Regions from separate parts of the Homo sapiens genome. Here region 2 is linked to region 1. The links are contacts of gene promoters, found by promoter capture Hi-C in human tissues and cell types (Jung and others, 2019). All regions are on one chromosome and are shown on one strand. The core of a region is centred on a gene start or on the middle of the fragment in contact, and the rest is flanking DNA. Distances in the headings are between cores, read along the strand shown. Region 1 holds the start of HAP1 (huntingtin associated protein 1). Region 2 overlaps DNAJC7 (DnaJ heat shock protein family (Hsp40) member C7).

Evidence for each region. The method cuts DNA at HindIII sites, captures the fragments that hold promoters and counts their contacts. A contact is called where the count stands out against the background at its distance.
Region 2: a contact is called between a fragment that was not itself captured here and the fragment with the promoter of HAP1 in region 1, in 4 of the 25 tissues and cell types used here (H1 embryonic stem cells, mesendoderm cells, pancreas and 1 more).

What each region holds. Positions count from the first base shown.
Region 1 is chr17:41,733,364-41,738,271 of GRCh38, forward strand. It overlaps HAP1 (huntingtin associated protein 1), which reads right to left and starts at 1,280. Exons shown (of 11, transcript NM_177977.3): 1 at 803-1,280. The coding sequence starts at 1,271. RefSeq lists an enhancer at 169-711. The HindIII fragment of the contact is 15,187 bases long and covers 1-4,908 here.
Region 2 is chr17:41,986,033-41,990,844 of GRCh38, forward strand. It overlaps DNAJC7 (DnaJ heat shock protein family (Hsp40) member C7), which reads right to left. Exons shown (of 14, transcript NM_003315.4): 6 at 4,232-4,350; 7 at 3,372-3,525; 8 at 2,700-2,864; 9 at 1,787-1,878. Among named protein-coding and RNA genes, the nearest start is that of CNP, 22 kb to the left of the region's middle. RefSeq lists enhancers at 1,912-2,412, 2,413-2,913. The HindIII fragment of the contact is 3,975 bases long and covers 743-4,717 here.

The DNA.
Region 1 (4,908 bases), core at 30-2,529:
TTTTTTTTTTTTTACCCCTGGAGGAGCCTGAGGTAAGGGGGTCACAGTCCTCCAGGCTCAGAAACTGGGCTCTCCGGACACCTGGGTCCCTGGCGCCTAGAATGGAGACAGCCAGGGGAAGTACAGCCTCAGACTGGCTCATCACCCCCTACCCAGGAGGCAGTGCAATGGAGTCTCCTGGGTCATACAAACAGACGCAGCCACTCACCCTGCACCTGTTGCGTGTGCAGAGGACAGGAGGAAGACTTCACCAGATTAGGAGACACTCGAGCCTCTAGGCCCAATCCAGAGATCTCCCCCGACCCGCAGGAGGATAGGAGAGACAAGGGGCAGGAAAAGAGCGCGACTTTGCCCCCATACCCGCAACCAAAAAGTGGGCAAAACTTCCCCCTCCGCCCGCCCACCCACCCCTCCATCGCACGCAAGCCCGGTCGGCCAGCGCAGACTCAGAGCGCGCGGGACAGCGCCCTCCCGCAGCCCCCCGCCCCTCTCCTGGCACTGCGGTAGACCCAGGAGAGGGGCGCTGAAGGGGTGCAGATCTGCCGCAGCAAGAGGCGCGTGGAGGTGGGTGGGCGAGCGTGCAGGCCCCAGAACCTGACTCACGGGCACAAACCAGGGGACAAGAGCAGAGGAGGAGATGGAGAAGGGGCGACCAGACAGACACCGCAGTGACATCGCGGGGGTGGTGGACGGGTGACACTGAGTGCTAGAGGGGGCGGGGTGCCTGGACCCGATGGGGCCACTTCCTCCCTGGAGTTGCCCCAGTCCCCACCCGGTCCAGGACCCCGGGGGCCCGATTTACCTTCCTCCAGCTCCCGAATAAAGGCGGCGCGCTCAGGGCCGGACACCCCGGGTCGCCGGCCAACGTAGGCGGCTGGCGTCTTCCAGATGCCCGCTGCCTTTCCAGTCCCCCGGCCAGTGGCCCGGGAACCAAACGGCCCTTGGAATACGAAGCGGGTCCACGGCGCGTCCGAATTGTCGGGCATAGACCGGACATCCCCTTGGATGGCCGAGAATGCGGACGGGCGCCGGGCTCCTGCCTTGGCTCCAGCCTCCGAGGCCGGGCGAGCTCCGGTGCGGGCTTCCGAGAGGAACTGGGATCCAGAGGTGGCTCGGGATCCTACTCTCTGTCCAGTGCCCCGTGCCTGCGGCTGCGCAGAGGGCTCCGGAGCGGGACTGGCTGAGGGCGAAGGTGCACAGGTGAGTGCTGCTGGGTCCCCGGGTCCGAGCCGGCTCCCCGCGCAGCACCGGCCCAACCTCTTCGGGCGCATCTCGAGTCTGCCGTCCGCTGCTGCGGCGGGACCTTTATAACCTGCGCCAGCCGCCGGGCCGGACCACGCGTAGGGGTGGGGGCTGCCGAGAAGCAACTAGTGGCAAGCGGGACTCAGAGCCGCGCGGGAGGGGAGCTAGTGGTGACGGAACAGAGCACAGTAAGAAAAGCAGGGCAAGAAGGGCGAGTGCAAGTTCCGGATGGCTCCGAGTTGGGATGGGAGCGAAAGATTTTTTCTGCCCTCTCCATCTCCGGAGAATGGTTCTGCCCAAAGCCGCGGCTGCCCCAGCACTCGCGGGTCCCTGGCTGGGGGCAGCCCCTCCCCAGCTGCCGCGCCGGGGTTTCGGGTGCCTTCCCTGGTGTAGAAGCTGCCAACCCAACGTTGTGCATACGGTCTGGGGTGGCCAGTGCATTAGGGCAGCGCTGCGTCTTTCCCGGTTGACTGGGAGAGACATTCCAAACTCCAGTGCGCTTCCAACGTGCTGCAACCCTGCCTGGCGCTGCAACCCTGCCTGGCGCTGCAACCCTGCCTGGCGCTGCAACCCTGCCTGGCGCTGCAACCCTGACCCTCGCGCTCACACCCCAGTGCTCGCGCCACTCGACGTCTTCCATTTGATTGGATTAACTGTTCTTCACCTCCAACCCTAGTTCGCTTTGCCCTCCTCTTGCCATGCTGGCGAACCCCTGTTCTCCTTGGGAGACGCCTCTTAAAAGTCTCCCTGTAGCCGGGCGCAGTGGCTCACGCCTGTAATCCCAGCACTTTGGGAGGCCGGGGCAGGCGAATCACCTGAGGTCAGGAGTTCCAGACAAGCCTGGCCACCTGGTGAAACCCTGTCTCTACTAAAAATACAAAAATTAGCCAAGCATGGTGGCGTGTGCCTGTAGTCCCAGCTACTCAAGAGGCTGAGGCAGGAGAATTGCTTGAACCTGGAAGGTAGAGGTTGCAGTGAACCGAAATTGTGCCAATGCACTCCAGCTGGGGCTACAGAGCGAGCCTACCCCTCAAAATAAATAAATAAATAGAATACTTTTTTTTTAAGTATCCTACTGGAAATGTTGGGTAGACAATTAGATGTATAAATCTGAATGTAGGGGAGAGACCGGGCTGGAGATTTAAATGTAGGAGTCATTGTTCTTTGATGACCATTTAAAGCTATGAGACTGGTGAGATCCCCAAGAGACTGAGAGAAGACAGGTAAGAGCGCCCAGGACTAACCCCCTAGGATTCAGAGGGCAGAAAGAAGAAGAGGAGGCATCAAAGGAAGACTGGGATGAGTGGGGCAGTGAAGTAGAGGAAAACCAGGAAAGTTGGGTCCTAGAAAGTAAAGAAAATGTTTCATGTAGAGAGTGGCCACCTGTGTTGGGTGGTGCTGTTGGGCCAGGCAAAGACTGAGGACAGAGACTCAGCTTGGCAAACTGGGGTCATGGGCAACCTTGGTGAGCTGGGGTCATGGCCTCGGCAAGAGCGGTCTTGCGGGGCCAGGCACAGTGGCTCACACCTGTAATCCTAGCACTCTGGGAAGCCAAGGCAGGTGGATCACCTGAGGTCAGGAGTTTGAGACCAACCCAGCCAACATAGTGAAACCCCATCTCTACTAAAATACAAAAATTAGCTCGGTGTGGTGGAACAAGCCTGTAAGCCCAGCTACTTGGAAGGCTGAGGCAGGGGAATTGCTTGAACCCAGGAGGCAGAAGTTTCAGTGAGCCGAGATTGCACCACTGCACTCCAGCCTGGGCAACAGAGCAAGACTTGTCTCAAAAAAAAAAAAAAAAAAAAAAAGAGCGGTCTTGGTAGAGGGGGTGAGAGAGACCAAAGAGGAGTGAGGAAATAACGAGAGGTAACAAAATGAAAACAGAAAGAAGGCTAGGCGCTGTGGCTCACACCTATAATCCCAGCACTTTGGGAGGCTTAGGAGGGTGAATTGCTTGAGCCCAGGAATTTGAGGCCAACCTGGGCAACATGGCAAAACCCTTTCGCTACAAAAAAATACAAGAATTGGCCGGGCGCAGTGACTCACACCTGTAATCCCAGCACTTTGGGAAGCCTAGGCGGGTGGATCGCCTGAGGTCAGGATTTTGATACCAGCCTGGCCAACATAGTGAAACCCCGTCTCTACTAAAAATACAAAAAATTAGTTGAGCATGGTGACGGGTGCCTGTAATCCCAGGTACTCAGGAGAATCGCTTGAACCCGGGAGGCGGAGGTTGCAGTGAGCCGAGATTGCGCCATTGCACTCCAACCTGGGCAACAAGAGCGAAACTCCGTCTCAAAAAAAAAAACATAGCTGGGCATGGTGGTGCATACCTGTACTACTTCAGGGGCTGAGGTGGGAGGATCACCTGAGCACAGGTCGAGGCTGCACTCCAGCCTGGGTGACAGAGCAAGACCCTGTCGGAAGGAAGGAAGGAAGGCGGGAGGGAGGGAGGGAGGGAGGAAGGAAGGAAGGAAGGAAGGAAGGAAGGAAGGAAGGAAGGAAGGGAGACAGTATAGAAAACTGTATTGAAGAAATCTGCAACAAAGGAGAGCTGGAAAAGGGCACAGGAGCTGAAGGAGGACATGAGTGCTGGGGAGTGTGTTTTGAAGATGGGAGAGAGGACAATATGTTTACATGCTGATGGAAATGTTCCCTCAGGGAGGAGAAAACAGGTGCAGAAAAGAGAGCTTATCTCCCAGAATACTTCTGGAAATGGAGGAACTTTCATAACATAACCGTTCTCCTCCTTGTTCAAAGTCTGCATGTTTTATTTTCTTTCTTTCTTTCTTTCTTTTTTTTTTCTTTTTTTGAGACGGAGTTTCGCTCTTGTTGCCCCAGGCTGGAGTGCAATGGCACGATCTCGGCTCACCACATCCTCCACCTCCCGTGTTCAAGCAATTCTCCTGCCTCTGCCTCAGCCTCCCCAATAACATGCGTCACCACATCCGGCTACTTTTGTCTTTTTAGTAGAGACGGGGTTTCTCCATGTTGGTTAGGCTGGTCTCGAACTCCCGACCTCACGTGATCCGCCTCCCCCTTGGTCTCCCAAAGTGCTGGGATTACAGGCGTGAGCCACTGTGCCCAGCCCAAAGTCTGCATGTTTCCTATGGTTTCTTTGTCAGCAGAAAGCTTGAAGGAGACACACAACCCCAGGGTTTGCTACGACAGTGAGGTTGAAGAACATAAGGAGGTGGCTGTTCGGGCATCGGCACAGCCCAGGCTTCCGTGAGGCTACAGCTCCATAGGCTCTGCCGAGTGGTCCTCCCACAGCCCAGCTTCCTGGACTGTCTCTCTGTGCCTTGGACATCTCTGCAGCCCCAACCACCAAGCACAGAACAGGGCATACAGAAGAAGCCTATTACACTCCTGCTGAATTAAATTGTTTCTGGCCCCATGAGGAAGAAGCCCTGGGAAACCCCTGGAGAGTTTGACGGGGAAGAAGGCAGAGGCAGTGGGATGGAGAAGACAGAGATGAAGTTAGGAGACCCTGAAAGCTCCCCCAGCTGACCACACCCTCTAGGTCAGCGCACTGGCAGCCAGCAACTCTGGCTACGGCCACCAGAGGGCAGTGTCAGCCCGTATACCTCCCCACGTGGCTTCCTCACCTACAGGCTCAGTCGCCCCACAGAAAGTGGAGTAGGGACAGAGACTCCATTTTACAAA
Region 2 (4,812 bases), core at 1,480-3,979, 250 kb after region 1:
GTTGGGGGCTTGCTTAAAAAAAAAAAAAAAAAAAAAAAAAAAAAAAAGGCCGGGCGCGGTGGCTCACACCTGCTGGTAATTCCAGAACTTTGGGAGGCCAAGACAGGCAGATCACTTGTCATCAGGAGTTTGAGAACAGCCTGGCCAACATGATGAAACCCCATCTCCAATAAAAATACAAAAATTTGCTGGGTGTGGTGACATGCGCCGGTAATCTCAGCTACTTCGGAGGCTGAAGCAGGAAATTCGCTTGAACTCAGGAGGTGGAGGTTGCAGTGAGCCAGTACGGTGCTACTGCACTCCAGCCTGAGCGACATAGCGAGACTCCATCCCGAGCGACATAGCGAGACTCCATCCCAAAAAATAAAACAAAGCGATTTTTCTCTTCTCTTCCCATCCCCTGGCATTCCATATACAGAGCATTCCATTAAGTTCATACAGTATCAAGTATCTAGCCACCCCCTTCCCACTGGACATGTAGGTGATTCTCCCCCCGCCTTTTTTTTTTTTTTTTTTTGCTATTATAGATAAAATTGCAGCAAACACCTTCATGTATATAGCATTTTGCGTCTGTTAAAGTCAGTCTTTGGCTGAATCAAAGGGTGCTTTTTTTGTCTTCCAAAGCTTCTGCTTCTGTGTGCCAGTGGTTTGCAAAGATGGAATGACTGACAGTCAGTCTCACAGAAGTTATAATTCCCTGTATGTTTCTGTTGGACAGACTTAGTCATCAACTTAGAAATTCACTTTTAAAAAAAGCATCACACACAGCAGCAGTTTTCCTATTTTAAGTGAGATAATTTTGAGAAAACTAAGTGGGAGGTAGTCCATGAGATATTCTGTACCACTGATGAGACAAGGAAGCTTAAACTACTGGCTCATCAGGCATCAGTGACAGCATCTGTTCTTTGGATATGACATTTTATAATAAGGAGTGGAGCAGGTGCTGGAGGATTAGTATACAATAAATACATCTTCTCTAAGAACTTTAAAGACGGGAAGTTTTTCTCCGCCTAGAGAATAATCTGAAATCAGAAGAGATGGATTTCTGAGAAAGATTTCTCCTAGCCCTGTTCCTATCTGGAGAAAACCAGCTGGTGGGTCTAAGAGTAAGAGGAGCAACCATGCCAGGGAGCACCCTGACTCTGGGGCAAATGTGAGCATTAGAGGTAGGCACATCCTGGCTCATAATCACCCTGTCAGACACAGAGTGCCCTCCACTCAAAACACTCAAGCAGAGAGTAGCCATCCAGGGTGTTTCAAAAGGAAGTTCCTTTATCCTGGGAGGCTGAGCCGGATTACATCTCTTCCAACTCTAAGATTGTCTTCCCTCGCCCAGAACAAACAGGATGAAGTACAACTCTCAACTGTCTCCAAGAGTTGTTTTCTCTTCCAAGCACCATACATTCATTCAACAAAACATTTATTCAGTGAGCACCTATGTGTCAAGCACTGTGCCAGGGTAGAGCATAAGTGTACAACACAAAATAAAATCTCCAAAGGAAATGGATTTAAACTTTTTAACAAAAGGAATTTGGGTCAGGCATCAGAGGAAACTTACTGACCGTGAGGGGCGTTAGACACAGGCATGGGAGACTGAGGGAGCTTGTGCAATCTCCTCCGCTGGAGGTCTATAAAGATAGTCTAGGGCTGGAACAATCCCACCTAGAGGCAGGGGGAAGGACCAAATGACCTCACAACATCTCTGGGTCTGCTTCGTCATCCACAAGGCAATTCCCCTGAGGCCAGCGGCAACTCCCTCTTCCCCCTACCCATCAGAGGCACTTACCACTGAGCTCTTCTCAAGTAGGCTTTTATGTAAGTGTCATCAAGCTTCACTGCATTTGTGCAGTCTTCTATTGCATCATCTAGTTTCCTAAGCTTCAGGAGAGAGAGAGCAATCATACTTCACACCTTTGGTGACTGAGGGAGCCCAGAAGCTGTGAGCATGGCTTCAAAACTCTAAGAGGATCAGTCATGCTGGCCCCTTAAATGTCATATTAAGTTCTAGTTCTTTGTCACCAGGGCTATGGACAGCAACTTCAAAATTGATTTCTCTTGTATATGATACAAGCCAGGCACATCTGTCTTCAAGGATAAACTACCTTTACCATTCCATGTTAGTGCCCAATGAAAACATGAAAATAGTAAGGCTGGTTCCTGCCCTCCTTTTTTCCAGAGGTCACCTGCAGGGATCAGAAATCACTCTGATTTTTAACTGCTAGAATTCTGCAAGGGCAAGGAGTCTACTTTTTGTTTCTGATGTTGGGTAGGGCCACAAAAGCACTCAGGCCATTTTCAACCATGCATGGTGACCATCAATTACACTGGAGAAAAACAAGCTTGCCTCATACTCTTCCTCCAAATCACTCCTAAAAAATAAATGATCACTTGCATAAGCAAAACAACAAAAAAGCAACAGTAGGTGCTTAAGATTATCCCACAGACCCTAGCCATTCTCTTACTGGAGGAAAGGGACCTTAATGAACAGGTGAGAATATCCTTGCAAATTGTCCAACTGCCCTCAAATTCCATAGAGATGACAAAAGCTTGCCTCTTGGAAGGGAGTTCCTAACAAACTATTAACCATAACAACTTTCCCTCTTTCATCTTGCTTACCCTCACTAGGCAGATTTCCCAAGACCCTTTGATGTCCCTTAAAAATATTTCTATAGGCCCCAAGATCTAGATCAAGAGCTTACCTTGGAATTAACCGTACCCCGATTACAGTAGAGTTTAGCATTTGTTTTTATATTGTTGGGGTCTATCCCCAGGGCTTCTGTGTACAGTTCATATGCTAGTTTGTAATTTCCTTCCTTAAATGCTTTATTCCCATCTTCTTTCTTTGCTTTGAGTGCTTTGGCATTCTACAGAAAAAAGCAAGGGGAGGATCGGTTCATATCCACAAAGCCTCAGACCATTGCACAGAGAGGCCAGACTCTATTTTCAAGTTCTTTGCTTCCAGCAGTTCAGCATCACAGAGCCCCGCCAACCCCCAATCTGGGCTATCTGTTGCTCATTTGAGCTTCCTACAGAGTGGACAGGAAAAGAGTTACCAAAAATACCAATGAGACCTATGTTACTGGGTCTGCCTTCACTTCTCAGGACAAGTATTACTATCTATCTTCACTGAGGGGAAAAACAAAACAAAAAAACCCTCTTAGATATTAAAGGCATCCGACCCTATATGATCACATCTACCTTTAGGTAAATACAAGTAGTCCTGAAACCATTTCTAATAAAGACCAAGCATCCTTGCAAAGCAGGAGGAAAAGCTATCACATTCCTTGTGATTCTAAAACCTTCCACTCTAGCCATCTTAAAGGTCCCAAAAGGAAGCTCTTTCCCAGTTAGGTCTGGTGACTAGAACTTACTCTGCAGGCAATGCAGGCCTTCTCGTGGTCAGGAGCCATCCTGAGAGCCTGTACGAAAAACTGAACTGCCTTCTCAATACAATCTTCGTAATAAAGGCAAAGACCTCGTACATACAGAGCATCTGCATTGGTGGAATCCATTCGTAGAATGTCACTGCAATAGTCAGAAAAGGGCACATTGAGCTGTGCTTTAGAATGTCCCCACCATTACTACCATTTGTGGCCAGTTTTCCTCCTTGACCATGTGTCTAGCATTCAAAATATCCAAAGGTAGACAGATTCCCAAGAACTGTTCCCAAACTTTCCCCAAATAAACCACCTATAATTATCTTTAATACACATCTTGTGTCTTACAATCCTTATTAAACTAGAACAGGGTTTGGCAAACTACAGCCCACAGGGCCAAATCCTTTCTGCCACTGGTTTTTGTAAATAAAACACTATTCAAACAGCCACACCCATTGGTTCATCTATTATCTAGGGCAACCTTTGCACTGCAATGGCAGAGTTGAGTTAGTTGCAACAGAGACCCTGTGGCCTGCAAAGGCTAAAATCTGGCCCTTTGCAGAAAGTGTGCCAACCAGTGGAGTAGAAGGAAAAGGACTACCTTAAACAAACAAACAAAACCACAAAAACACAATCTGTTCTTTCATATATAGCTCAAGTACCTGCTATACTACTATACTCCTGTATACCCTACGGGTTTTCAAAGCTGGTCTAATCTTTGACTTTAAGTCCCAAGAGGGTCTGATCAGCCCTAGCTGGCCTACTCTGGGGACCATATCCTGTGGTGAAGCTGCCGGACACCATCAGTCCAATGGTATCTGGCATTTTAATGTCCAGCTAGCCTGACTGCATACCTAGCCACAGACTGTGCTTCTGGATAACGACCCAGCATTGCTAAACATTCTGCCTTGAGGATTTTGAAGCGATGGCAGGCAGGGGCAAATTCTAGGGCACGGTCCATGCAGAAAACAACCTGTAGGGAAGAAGAAAACAAATAAGGCTCTTCATCAGGGACTCCAGAAACATCTTCACTTTAGTTTAGTCACAGGTAACAGACTCAAAACTCAATGAGGTCTTTGGGTCCACTTCTAAGTAATATCAAAGTTTAAAAACATACCTAATTCATTAAATAAAAGCACTGAAATGAGGACAGCAAAGGCTCCAGATGATAATGAGGACAGTAAACATTTACTGGGTACTTTCATATATGAACCCATTTAATCCTCACAAGAATTTTATGAAATAGGCAATATTATCACTTTTTTTTTTTTTTTTGAGATGGAGTCTCACTCTGTCACCCAGGCTGGAGTGCAGTGGCAGGATCTTGGCTCACTGCCACCTCTGCCTCCTGGGTTCACGCCATTCTCCTGCCTCAGCCTCCCGAGTAGCTGGGACTACAGGCGCCCGCCACCACGCCCAAGCTAATTTTTTTTTG